Linked DNA regions of Homo sapiens: regions 1, 2 and 3 are each linked to region 4. The links are contacts of gene promoters, found by promoter capture Hi-C in human tissues and cell types (Jung and others, 2019). All regions are on one chromosome and are shown on one strand. Each heading gives the region's core, a stretch centred on a gene start or on the middle of the fragment in contact. The rest is flanking DNA. Distances are from core to core; before and after follow the strand shown. Region 1 has its middle 5.2 kb from the start of ILF3-DT. Region 2 holds the start of ICAM1 (intercellular adhesion molecule 1). Region 3 holds the start of AP1M2 (adaptor related protein complex 1 subunit mu 2). Region 4 holds the start of CDC37 (cell division cycle 37, HSP90 cochaperone).

Region 1 (2,700 bases), core at 44-2,543, 250 kb after region 4:
AGGGTCTGCAGTCAATGCATGTGGTAGGACATCTCAGCCTCCATGATCACATGAGCCAATTATTCTGCTAAATCCCCTCTCATCTACCTACCTCCTATTAGCTTTCTCGGAGAAACCTAGTAATACACACATCATACATTTTCCTGGCCTTTTTTTTTTTTTTTTTTTTTTTTTGAGATGGAGTCTTGCTCTGTCACTCAGGCTGGAGTGCAGTGGCACGATCTAGGCTCACTGCAAGCTCCGCCTCCCGGGTTCACGCCATTCTCCTGCCTCAGCTCCTGAGTAGCTGGGACTACAGCTGCCCGCCACCACCCCCGGCTAATTTTTTTGTATTTTTCGTAGAGACAGGGTTTTACCATGTTAGCCAGGATGGTCTCGATCTCCTGACCTCATGATCCGCCTGCCTTGGCCTCCCAACGTGCTGGGATTACAGGCATGAGCCACCGCACGCAGCTACATTTTCCTGGCTTTAAGATGAGAAGTCTTCTCTTTTTTTGAGACGGAGTCTCGCTCTGTCGCCCAGCCTGGAGTGCAGTGGCATGATCTTGGCTCACTGCAACCTCCGCTTCCTGGGTTCAAGCAATTCTCTGCCTCAGCCTCCCGAGTAGCTGGGATTACAGGAGCCCGCCACCATGCCCGGCTAATTTTTGTATTTTTAGTAGAGATGGAGTTTCACCATCTTGGCCAGGCTGCTCTTGAACTCTTGAACTCTTGATCCACCCACCTCGGCCTCCCAAAGTGTTGGGATTAGAGGGCCAGAAAAGTCTTTTCTTGCTCCTAAGTCTCAGGCCTGGAGCTCACTGACTCTGACCAGCCTGATTATGATCATTTACTCATTGTAAATCATTGAGTCAATCATTGTAGTCAAGGTGTGGGCCTAGTTTGGGAGTCAGGCAGCAGGGACCTGCCATCTAGACTACAGTTTGATCAAGGGAGAGGAATGGTTCCCCAACAACTGTGGTCATCCCACAGTGTCCATCCCAGAGTGGTCACCCATGTCCACCCTGGGGGGGGGCAAGAAGGGAACAGGCATAGGACAAAAAGCTTTCGAGAGGGAAGTTAACTGGGTGTGATTGGGAGAGTGGGTGGAATCTTTCAAGATGAGGAAGACAATGAATAGAGAGGCTGTAAGGACAGCAGAGTCACTGAGAGTGACAGGACCTGTCTAGACTGACAGATTACAAGAGGGGGATGACCTCAATCTTCAACCAATGAGTGGGAGGGAGGGAAGAGAGAAGGAATAGCCAGATGACAGATGATGTCACTAAGGCAAGGAGGAGAGAATGGTGTTGTATACAGGGTTTGTGACCACTGAGTGGTGGAAGGACAAGGGCAGAGGTGCGAGGTCGGGTCAGGGTAGCAGTTCAGCAAGACAGGGCAGATGGCATCTTGTGTCTTCCATCCTTTACGGTGACCAGGGACTAGGAACCTGATGGATGGGGTTTATTGGAAAGTTGGGCTGAAAACTTTTTACTTCAAAAAATTTTTTTCTTTTTCCTTTTTTTTTTTTTTTGAGACGAAGTCTCACTCTTGTCCCCCAGTCTGGAGTGCAATGGTGCAATCTCAGCTCACTGCAACCTCCGCTTCCTGGGTTCAAGTGATTCTCCTGCCTCAGCCTCCCGAGTAGCTGGGATTACAGGTGCGTACCACCACGCCCAGCTAATTTTTTATATTTTAAGGAGAGATGGGGTTTCACCATGTTGGCCAGGCTGGTCTCGAACTCCTGACCTCAAGTGATCCACCCGCCTCGGCCTCCCAAAGTGCTAGGATTAGAGGGTGAACCACCACACCTGGCCCTTTCTTTTTTTTTTTAGACACAGTCTCCCTGTCACCCAGGCTGGACTGTAGTGGCTTGATCTCGGCTCACTGCAACCTCCACCTCCCAGGTTCAAGCGATTCTCGTGCCTCAGCCTCCCGAGTAGCTGGAATTACAGATGCCAGCCATCATGCCCAGCTACTTTTTGTACTTTTAGTAAAGACAGAGTTTCACCATGTTGGCCAGGGTGGTCTTGAACTCCTGACCTCAAGTGATCCACCAATCTCGGCCTCCCAATGTGCTAGGATTACAAGTATGAGCCACTGCCCCCAGCCTTCTTTTTGTTTTTATTCTTGAAAACTTTTTTTTTTTTTAATGTAGAGATGGGGCTGGGTGCAGTAGCTCATGCCTGTAATCCCAGCACTTTGGGAAGCCAAGGTGGGTGGATAACTTGAGGTCAGGAGTTTGAGACCAGCCTGGCCAACATGGCAAAACCCAGTCTCTACTAAAAATACAACAATTAGCTGACCATGGTGGTGTACGCCTGCAATCCCAGTGACTTGGGAGGCTAAGGCAGAATTGCTTAAACTCGGGAATTGGAGGTTGCAGTAAGCTGAGATTGTTATCACTGCACCCTAGCTGGGACTACAGAACGAGACTCCATCTCAAAAATAAATAAATAGATAGATAGATAAAAAACATAGAGATGGGGTCTCACTATGTTGCCCAGACTGGTCTTGAACTTCTGGGCTCAAGCAATCCCCCTGCCTCAGCCTCCCAAAGTGTAGGATTACAGGCATGAGCCAGCATGCCTGGCCAAGACAACATTTTTCAGGAAGTTCTGGTTGGATGGGGCACCCGTTCAAGAGGTAACAATCATAACCATTACTGTTTTTGAAGCTTTAACTCCATGCCAGGTACTGAAGCAACCCCTTGATGTTGAA
Region 2 (2,700 bases), core at 112-2,611, 130 kb before region 4:
GGGGCGGGAATTCAGAACTCCTCAGCCCCCCAAGAAAAAAATATCCCCGTGGAAATTCCTTGGGAATGACCGAGGCGGGGGAAATATGCGTCTCTGGATGGCCAGTGACTCGCAGCCCCCTTCCCCGATAGGAAGGGCCTGCGCGTCCGGGGACCCTTCGCTTCCCCTTCTGCTGCGCGACCTCCCTGGCCCCTCGGAGATCTCCATGGCGACGCCGCGCGCGCCCCACAACAGGAAAGCCTTAGGCGGCGCGGCTTGGTGCTCGGAGACTTAAGAGTACCCAGCCTCGACGTGGTGGATGTCGAGTCTTGGGGTCACACGCACAGGCGGTGGCCAAGCAAACACCCGCTCATATTTAGTGCATGAGCCTGGGTTCGAGTTGCCGGAGCCTCGCGCGTAGGGCAGGGGTTCGAGCGCCCCTTCTCCCTGCCTCGCCTCTGCGCCTGGGGGCTGCTGCCTCAGTTTCCCAGCGACAGGCAGGGATTTCGAGCGTCCCCCTCCCCTCCCTCGTCAAGATCCAAGCTAGCTGCCTCAGTTTCCCCGCGGAGCCTGGGACGCCAGCGGAGGGGCTCGGCGCGTAGGGATCACGCAGCTTCCTTCCTTTTTCTGGGAGCTGTAAAGACGCCTCCGCGGCCAAGGCCGAAAGGGGAAGCGAGGAGGCCGCCGGGGTGAGTGCCCTCGGGTGTAGAGAGAGGACGCCGATTTCCCCGGACGTGGTGAGACCGCGCTTCGTCACTCCCACGGTTAGCGGTCGCCGGGAGGTGCCTGGCTCTGCTCTGGCCGCTTCTCGAGAAATGCCCGTGTCAGCTAGGTGTGGACGTGACCTAGGGGGAGGGGCATCCCTCAGTGGAGGGAGCCCGGGGAGGATTCCTGGGCCCCCACCCAGGCAGGGGGCTCATCCACTCGATTAAAGAGGCCTGCGTAAGCTGGAGAGGGAGGACTTGAGTTCGGACCCCCTCGCAGCCTGGAGTCTCAGTTTACCGCTTTGTGAAATGGACACAATAACAGTCTCCACTCTCCGGGGAAGTTGGCAGTATTTAAAAGTACTTAATAAACCGCTTAGCGCGGTGTAGACCGTGATTCAAGCTTAGCCTGGCCGGGAAACGGGAGGCGTGGAGGCCGGGAGCAGCCCCCGGGGTCATCGCCCTGCCACCGCCGCCCGATTGCTTTAGCTTGGAAATTCCGGAGCTGAAGCGGCCAGCGAGGGAGGATGACCCTCTCGGCCCGGGCACCCTGTCAGTCCGGAAATAACTGCAGCATTTGTTCCGGAGGGGAAGGCGCGAGGTTTCCGGGAAAGCAGCACCGCCCCTTGGCCCCCAGGTGGCTAGCGCTATAAAGGATCACGCGCCCCAGTCGACGCTGAGCTCCTCTGCTACTCAGAGTTGCAACCTCAGCCTCGCTATGGCTCCCAGCAGCCCCCGGCCCGCGCTGCCCGCACTCCTGGTCCTGCTCGGGGCTCTGTTCCCAGGTGAGTCGGGGTGGGGATTGCCGTCGGGCCAGTTCTCCGAAGCCCCGGGAGGACCGGCTCCCGGGTCAGGTCATGCATGCTTAGGTAGCTGTTTATGGGAAGGAGGGGCTAGAGACAGCGATTGAAAGGCAACAGCCAGTAGGTTCGAATCCAGACCCTGCATACCTCCACGTGTGGCCTTGGGCTATAGATTGCAGCTTTAAAAAAGGGTAGGGGGTTGGAGATGGAGGGGAGGGGCGGGCCTCGTTTTGTTGCCCAGGCCGGTCTTGAACTCCGGGGGTCTAGCCTTACCTCCTGCCTCAGCCTCCCGAGTAGCTGGGATGAGAGGTGTGAACCACCGCCTTGCTTGGCTAGATTGCGTCTCTTACAGTTTCTCAGCTGTAAAACGGGAAACGTTATAGCGGCCACCTGGCAGGGTATCTTGGCCCAGCGCAGCACCTGGCCCCAGGACTCGATCATGATGGTTTGGGAACTTGGCTCTGTGCCAACCCAACAAGGCTTAAGGGACCCCCACCCCCCTCAAGATGTATATTCTGTTCCTCATCCTCTCTGCCCCTGGGGAAGTCCAGGGCTGCTTCTACTTGGGGGAATTCCAGAGCTGACTTATCCGTGGCCCAAAGCTGAGAAGTGGGACGCCCCAGCACACCCTCCCCCAGCTCCAGCCCAGCTAGGGAAGAGGGAAGGGGTCAGAGGGTCTTTCATGGTGGTGTAAGTTTGGGGAACCAGGAGGGTGGGAGATTGACAGCTTGGTTAACAGCTCAACAAAGCCTGAGATCCAGGCCAGCACGGTAGTTCATGCCAGTAATCCCAACACTTTAGGAGCCCCAGGCGGGCGAATCACTTAAGGTCAGGAGTTTGAGACCAGCCTGGCCAACATGGCAACATCCCGTCTCTACTAAAAATACAAAAATTAGCTGGCATGGTGGTGGGCGCCTGTGATCCCAGCTGCTCGGGAGGCTGAGGGAGGAAAATCCCTTAAGCCCACGAGGCTGAGGTTGCAGTGAACCAAGATTGTGCCACTGCACTCCAGCCTGGGAGACATAGCGAGATTCTGTCTCAAAAAACAAAGCGTTCTGATCCGGACTCAGACCCAGATCGCACTGCTTTCTAGCTGAGTAACCATTTCTCTCTATGAAATGGGAATGGTCCCAGAATCTCCCTTGGAGAATGTATGGAGCCAGTGTCCTCACACCCCCATCCAAGATAGAACAAATCTGAGACAGGAATCTTTG
Region 3 (2,700 bases), core at 191-2,690, 180 kb after region 4:
CCTGTCATCCGAACACTTTGGGAGGCTGAAGCAGGGGGATAGCTGGGGACCAGGAGTTCAAGACCATCCTGGACAACATAGCAAGACTCCATCTGTACAAAAAAATAAAAATAAAAAATAGGCCGGGTGCGGCCGGGCGCAGTGGCTCATGTCTGTAATCCCAGCACTTTGGGAGGCCGAGGTGGGCGGATCACGAGGTCAAGAGATTGAGACCATCCTGCCCAACATGGTGAAACCCCATCTCTACTAAAGATACAAAAAATTAGCCGGGCGTGATGGTGCGCGCCTGTAATCCCAGCTACTCAGGAGGCTGAGGAAGGAGAATCACTTGAACCTGGGAGGTGGAGGTTGCAGTGAGCCAAGATCATGCCATTGCACTCCAGCCTGGGTGACAAGGCGAGACTCTGTCTTGAAAAAAAAAAAAAATACAAAAATTAGCCAGGCATGGTGGCATGCACCTGTAGTCCCAGCTACTCGGGAGGCTGAGGCAGGAGAATTGCTTCAACCCGGGAGGTGGAGGTTGCAGTGAGCCAAGATGGAGCCACTGCACTCCAGCCTGGGTGACAGAGCAAGACTCTATTTAAAAAAAAAAAAAAAAAAAAATTAAAAATAGCCGGGCATGGAGGGGTCAGCCCGCAGCCCCAGATATTCAGGAGTTTGAGAGCAGCTTTGGCAACATAGCGGGATCCCTCTACAAAAAAATGTCAAGAATTAGCCAGGCATGGTGGCCTGCACCTGTGTAGTCACAGCTACTCCGGAGACTGAGGCAGGAGGATCGCTTGAGCCCAGGAATTCCAGGCTGCAGTGAGCTATGATCGCACCACTGCACTCAAGCCTGGGAGACAGCAAGAGACCCTGTCTCCAAAATAAAAAAAGACAAGAGGAATAAAAGGACTTCAGGAAGAGGCAAGGCAGCCACAGATGGGGGGAGTTAGAGGCCCCTGTTCCAGTTGCCTTCCCCAGGTATTAACACTGTGGATGCCGACAGTGATGGAGATAATTTCAATTTGCTGAGTCCCTAATATTTCCAGAAAGGCCACTATGCTAAGTAGTTTACACGCAGCGAGTTGTATTAATTCTCATTGGGTGGGGACCTCTGTTGCTCCCATTTTTACATACAGAGAAACTGAGGCCCTAGGAGGCGAACCCCTTGGCCTCAGGCACAAGGCGAGTGGATGCTGGAGGTGGGATTCCCAGGGATTGCAGGGGGAGGGGGTGTTCCCAGACCTCTTCCTGGCCCGCGCGGAGGGGTCGCCCCTGAATCCCTGGGAGCGAGACCTCACCTGTCCGTCTCCCAACTCCTCATGCCCAGCCTCACCTTGCCCTTAACGTCCAGAATGAAGACAGCCGAGGCGGACATGGTGGCGGCCGAAGGACTTAGGAGTCGGGGAGGGAGCGCCGGGAGGCGATGGCGGCGCCGCTTCCTTCTTCCTGCGGAAGCGCCTGCGCCCAGGTGAGAGCCCAGGTGTGTGCGTCTTAAAGGGGAGGCGGCCAGGTGAGCAGCGCTGTCGGCCAACTTGAAGATGGCTGCGGGGCCGGGAGAGGTACTGCGACTTCAGATGGGTCTGCTGCCCCCCTTCACTTTCCCTAGCCACCCAGGAGTAATGACGGGTGGAGACCCCAAACCAATCAACCATCCTTCCATCCATTCATTCATCCTTCCTTTCATTCATCTATCCATCCATTCGTCCATCCATCCATTCATTCTTGCATTCATTAATCCATCCACGCATCCACTCATTTAGCCATTCATTAATCCATCTTCCATCGATTCATTGATCCATCCTTCCATTCGTCATCCATTTCTTCATCCATTTTTGCATTCATTTATTTGTTCGTCTATCCATTATCCATTCATCCATCCATTTATTCATCCATTCATTCATCCCTTCTTGCATTCATTCATTTATTCATCTTTCCATTCATCCATCCATTCATCCATTCTAACATTCATCAATTTATTCATCTATCCATCCATCCATCCATCCGTTCATCCATTCTTGCATCATTAATTTATTCATCTATCCATTCATCAATCCATCCATCCATCCATTCTTGCATTCATTAATTTATTCATCTATCCATTCATCCACCCATCTATCCATTCATTCATCCTCTCATTGATTCATCCATCCATTCACCTTCTTTCTCCTCTGTCTCACCCACACACGTCAGCCCCCATACAGCAGGGACTTTGTCTTGTTCATGTTTATGTCCCTAGTGCTCAGCACTGGGTGCTCAAAATTTGCCCAATTCATTCATTCACTCATTCATATAATAATTTTCACTGGTGAATTTTACTGACTGAATTTGAAATATTCATTCACTCAGTAACAGGAACTGTGGATATAATTCCGAGCAGGACAAATGTACTTGCTTTTATTATTCTTACAAATTTACTCTTATTCATTTCAAATAAAAAATTTATTTTTTTTTGTTTTTTGAAATGGAGTCTCACTCTGTTGCCCATGCTGGAGTGCAGTGGAATGATTTTGGCTCACTGCAACCTCCACCTCCCAGGTTCAAGCAATCCTCCTGCCTCAGCACCCCTAGTAGCTGGGATTACAGGCAAGCGCCACCATGCCCAGCTAATTTTTTTTTTTTTTTAGACTCCAGGCTGGAGTGCAGTGGCATGATCTCTACTCACTACAACCTCCGCTTCCCGGGTTCAAGGGATTCTGCTGCCTCAGCCTCCCAAGT
Region 4 (2,744 bases), core at 47-2,546:
CTTTAAGTCTTAGTCATCCCATTGGCTCGTGAGCACTGAGAGGGTGGTGGGACATGGATCACCCAGGCTTGGGATTCTGGGGTCTGGATTCGGGACCTCTGTTGTGGTCAGATAGAAGAAGGGGTGGTGAATTTAGAATCAGACCAGGAGAGTCCCTGGATAAGAGCAGGGACAATTTGGGTCACAGAGTAGCTAACAGGCTGGGGACAAAAGGTGGGGTGGGTTTGGGGTTCTGGGCTTGAGTTAGGGGAGAGTTTCCAATGCTGGCTGAGGCTCATACAGGAAGCCAGTCTGGGAAGTGGGTGGTGACAGGGTCTGCAATACCAAGTAGGAGCAGGGGCTCTGGCTAGGCCGGAAGCCACGTGGGCAGGATTTCCTGGTATAATGGGAAATGGGTCTACCGGAGGCCAAAGGAGAGGCTGGAATGTGAGGCTCTATCGGGTTGGAGCTGGTAGTTAGATCCAGAGGGGAACCAGATTCCAAAACCCAAGTACTCGGTGAGACTAAGGATCCTGAAGGGGGACGGTTCTACACTCTAGGAAGGGGGTCCTGGGTGTGGGCAGGGACAGGAATATCAGAGTAGCACAGAGTTCCTTGTTCCGTTTAGAAAAGGAGTGGCGACTCCGGATCTGAATGGGAACCCCGGATCAAGATCCCGGAAAGTAGATCCCGGGACAGACCAAAGTATTGGGGGTCCAGACTACGGAGGTGGGGGGGCGATGGGAGATCCCAGATAGGAAGTGAATACCCGAATAGGATGAGGGATCATCTAGAAGAATTTGGGGTCCAAACTTTGAGGCAGAGTTCTGGGTATAAATGTTAACTGCCGAACAGAATTAGGGAGAACCCCCAAGACTCGTCTAGGGGACTCCAGACTATGAAGAAGTTCTAGGGGGTGAATAGGGAATCCCACGCAAAAATCGGAGCAGGGAGTGGGGGAGCGGAGATCCAGGGCAGGGACTCAGGGTCCCAATGGTACTGGGGTCCCGGAGTTGAATCGAAGCTCCTGAAAATCCAGACTGGGGGGGTGAGAATCCTAGGTGTGAACAGCGGGGTCCCTGGGCAGTATCGGGGATCACAACTCCGAAGCGGGGTCCGGGAGTGGGGAAAGGGATGGGCGCGCGCGCCTTACCTGATGCCGCCAGCGGAAGAGACTGGCCGTGTCGATGTTGGGGTGCGTCTCGTCTTCATCATCAGACACCTCAATGTGGTCCCACACGCTGTAGTCCACCATCTTGCCTTGGCGGCCCAGCCCGCTCCGGCTCGGGTGGCGGCGACGGCGGCAGCAGTGGAGACTAGGAGCGCGGAGCCCCGCCCCTTCCGCTTCCGCCGAGCGCGGGAAACCCCGCCCTGTGTGACGTCACATCCCTAGTAACCGCGGCAGCGGCACTAGCTACCCAGCCAGCCTTAAAGGGCCCTGCGTAAGTGTTCCGGCCCCCTGGAGTTCCCGCAGAGACTCCGCGTCATCGGGCGCTGGGGCTCCGCTAGGTCTCCTGGGGGCATATGAGTGCGCGCTTCAACTCCGAGCCCCCCTCATCTCCCGCCGCTCCACGGTGGGCGTTTGGGGTGGCAGGGAGGGGACGGTTGATGAGACTGAGAGGACTGTCCCCTCAGCCACGCCGCAGTGACGTCTGCAAGGGGTAGGGACACGGCGGGAAGGCCCTCCCCCTGCCCTTCGTAAACGGGGACCTAAGCCTGCGCTGGAGAGGGGCGCCTGATGACTCCTCGGACTTTCTCAGCCCGAGGAGGACTGGACCTGCCCTGGGGGTGTCTAAATCGGGGGTGGTATGGCCCTCCCCTTGCAGGGTTAAACGTGGAGGGGAGACTGTGGCCCTGCCTTGGGAGCTGGGGTTTCCCCGCCTCGGCAACAGCCTTCTCCTTGTCTTCCACCTCCTGCCATTCGCAGCGAGGACTCGCGCGAGCGCGCGCGCGCACACACACACACACACACACACACACGCACACACACACACACACACACTTTGGAATCACCCGGACCCCCTCAAAACGGGTCTCGGCTCCCCACCCCGCTGGCCGCTGGGTGTCGCTAGAGTCTAGCCCACGGCGCGTATTCCTGGCCCCGCGCTTGGTGGGGGGAATCGTGGAGGGGTGGAAGGGGGCTTTCCTTGTCGTCACAGTCTGGGGCCACGCATAGCCCCTCCCCGTTCGTCTTGGGGTACGCTTCCTCCGCCGGGGCTCTAAGGACTCCATTACTCTAAGCATGCAGGGCCTCGACCACCTCACACTTCCATGCATCCCAATCCACGCTTTGATACCAGGATAATAGGCCGTGTTGCAGCCTTGGGCCAGGATTATCTCAGATTAAAGGGTGCTCCCTCGGGGGTCAGGCTGGATAGGAGGAGCTCCAGCCACTCCGGTGAGGGGCGCCTCTTCCTAGTCTCCCCTGGAGCCGACGTTGGAGGCAGTGCCTGGAGAGAGCGAGCGAAGTTCTCCAGAAGGGGGAGGATTCCCCGGTGCATGGAGCGGGAAGGGCCATCGGACAAAAACGTCCTCCCGCTGCCGCCCTTCCCCCTCGCGCTTCATTCAAACCCGCGAGTGGGCGGGCAGGGGCGGGGGAGTCCCCATCTCCTACCCCTCCCTCTTCCCCTCCACCCTGGCAGTCCAGCACATCAGTGGCCGTCACGGCCCGGGCACGCGCGCGCACGGACCCACACCCCGGCGGCTCTCACAATCGCACACACACATACACACACACACCAGCAAACAAAGGGTCTGGACACCCC

The links. The method cuts DNA at HindIII sites, captures the fragments that hold promoters and counts their contacts. A contact is called where the count stands out against the background at its distance.
Region 1: a fragment that was not itself captured here is called in contact with the fragment with the promoter of CDC37 in region 4 in 5 of the 25 tissues and cell types used here (IMR-90 fibroblasts, dorsolateral prefrontal cortex, hippocampus and 2 more).
Region 2: the fragment with the promoter of ICAM1 here is called in contact with the fragment with the promoter of CDC37 in region 4 in 1 of the 25 tissues and cell types used here (lymphoblastoid cells).
Region 3: a contact is called between the fragment with the promoter of AP1M2 here and the fragment with the promoter of CDC37 in region 4, in 1 of the 25 tissues and cell types used here (lymphoblastoid cells).

What each region holds. Positions count from the first base shown.
Region 1 is chr19:10,647,328-10,650,027 of GRCh38, forward strand. No RefSeq gene overlaps it. Among named protein-coding and RNA genes, the nearest start is that of ILF3-DT, 5.2 kb to the right of the region's middle. The HindIII fragment of the contact is 3,105 bases long and covers 1-2,700 here.
Region 2 is chr19:10,269,759-10,272,458 of GRCh38, forward strand. It overlaps ICAM1 (intercellular adhesion molecule 1), which reads left to right and starts at 1,362. Exons shown (of 7, transcript NM_000201.3): 1 at 1,362-1,468. The coding sequence starts at 1,402. The region is part of intron 1 of LIMASI (lncRNA inflammatory and mucous response associated, antisense to ICAM1); the gene reads right to left. RefSeq lists enhancers at 924-1,013, 1,924-2,163. The HindIII fragment of the contact is 18,240 bases long and covers 1-2,700 here.
Region 3 is chr19:10,585,872-10,588,571 of GRCh38, forward strand. AP1M2 (adaptor related protein complex 1 subunit mu 2) reads right to left here and starts at 1,441. Exons shown (of 12, transcript NM_005498.5): 1 at 1,319-1,441. The coding sequence starts at 1,360. The HindIII fragment of the contact is 10,873 bases long and covers 1-2,700 here.
Region 4 is chr19:10,402,246-10,404,989 of GRCh38, forward strand. CDC37 (cell division cycle 37, HSP90 cochaperone) reads right to left here and starts at 1,297. Exons shown (of 8, transcript NM_007065.4): 1 at 1,133-1,297. The coding sequence starts at 1,234. It overlaps MIR1181 (microRNA 1181), which reads right to left and starts at 1,293; the gene lies at 1,213-1,293. RefSeq lists a silencer at 1,013-1,072 and an enhancer at 1,473-1,822. The HindIII fragment of the contact is 39,094 bases long and covers 932-2,744 here.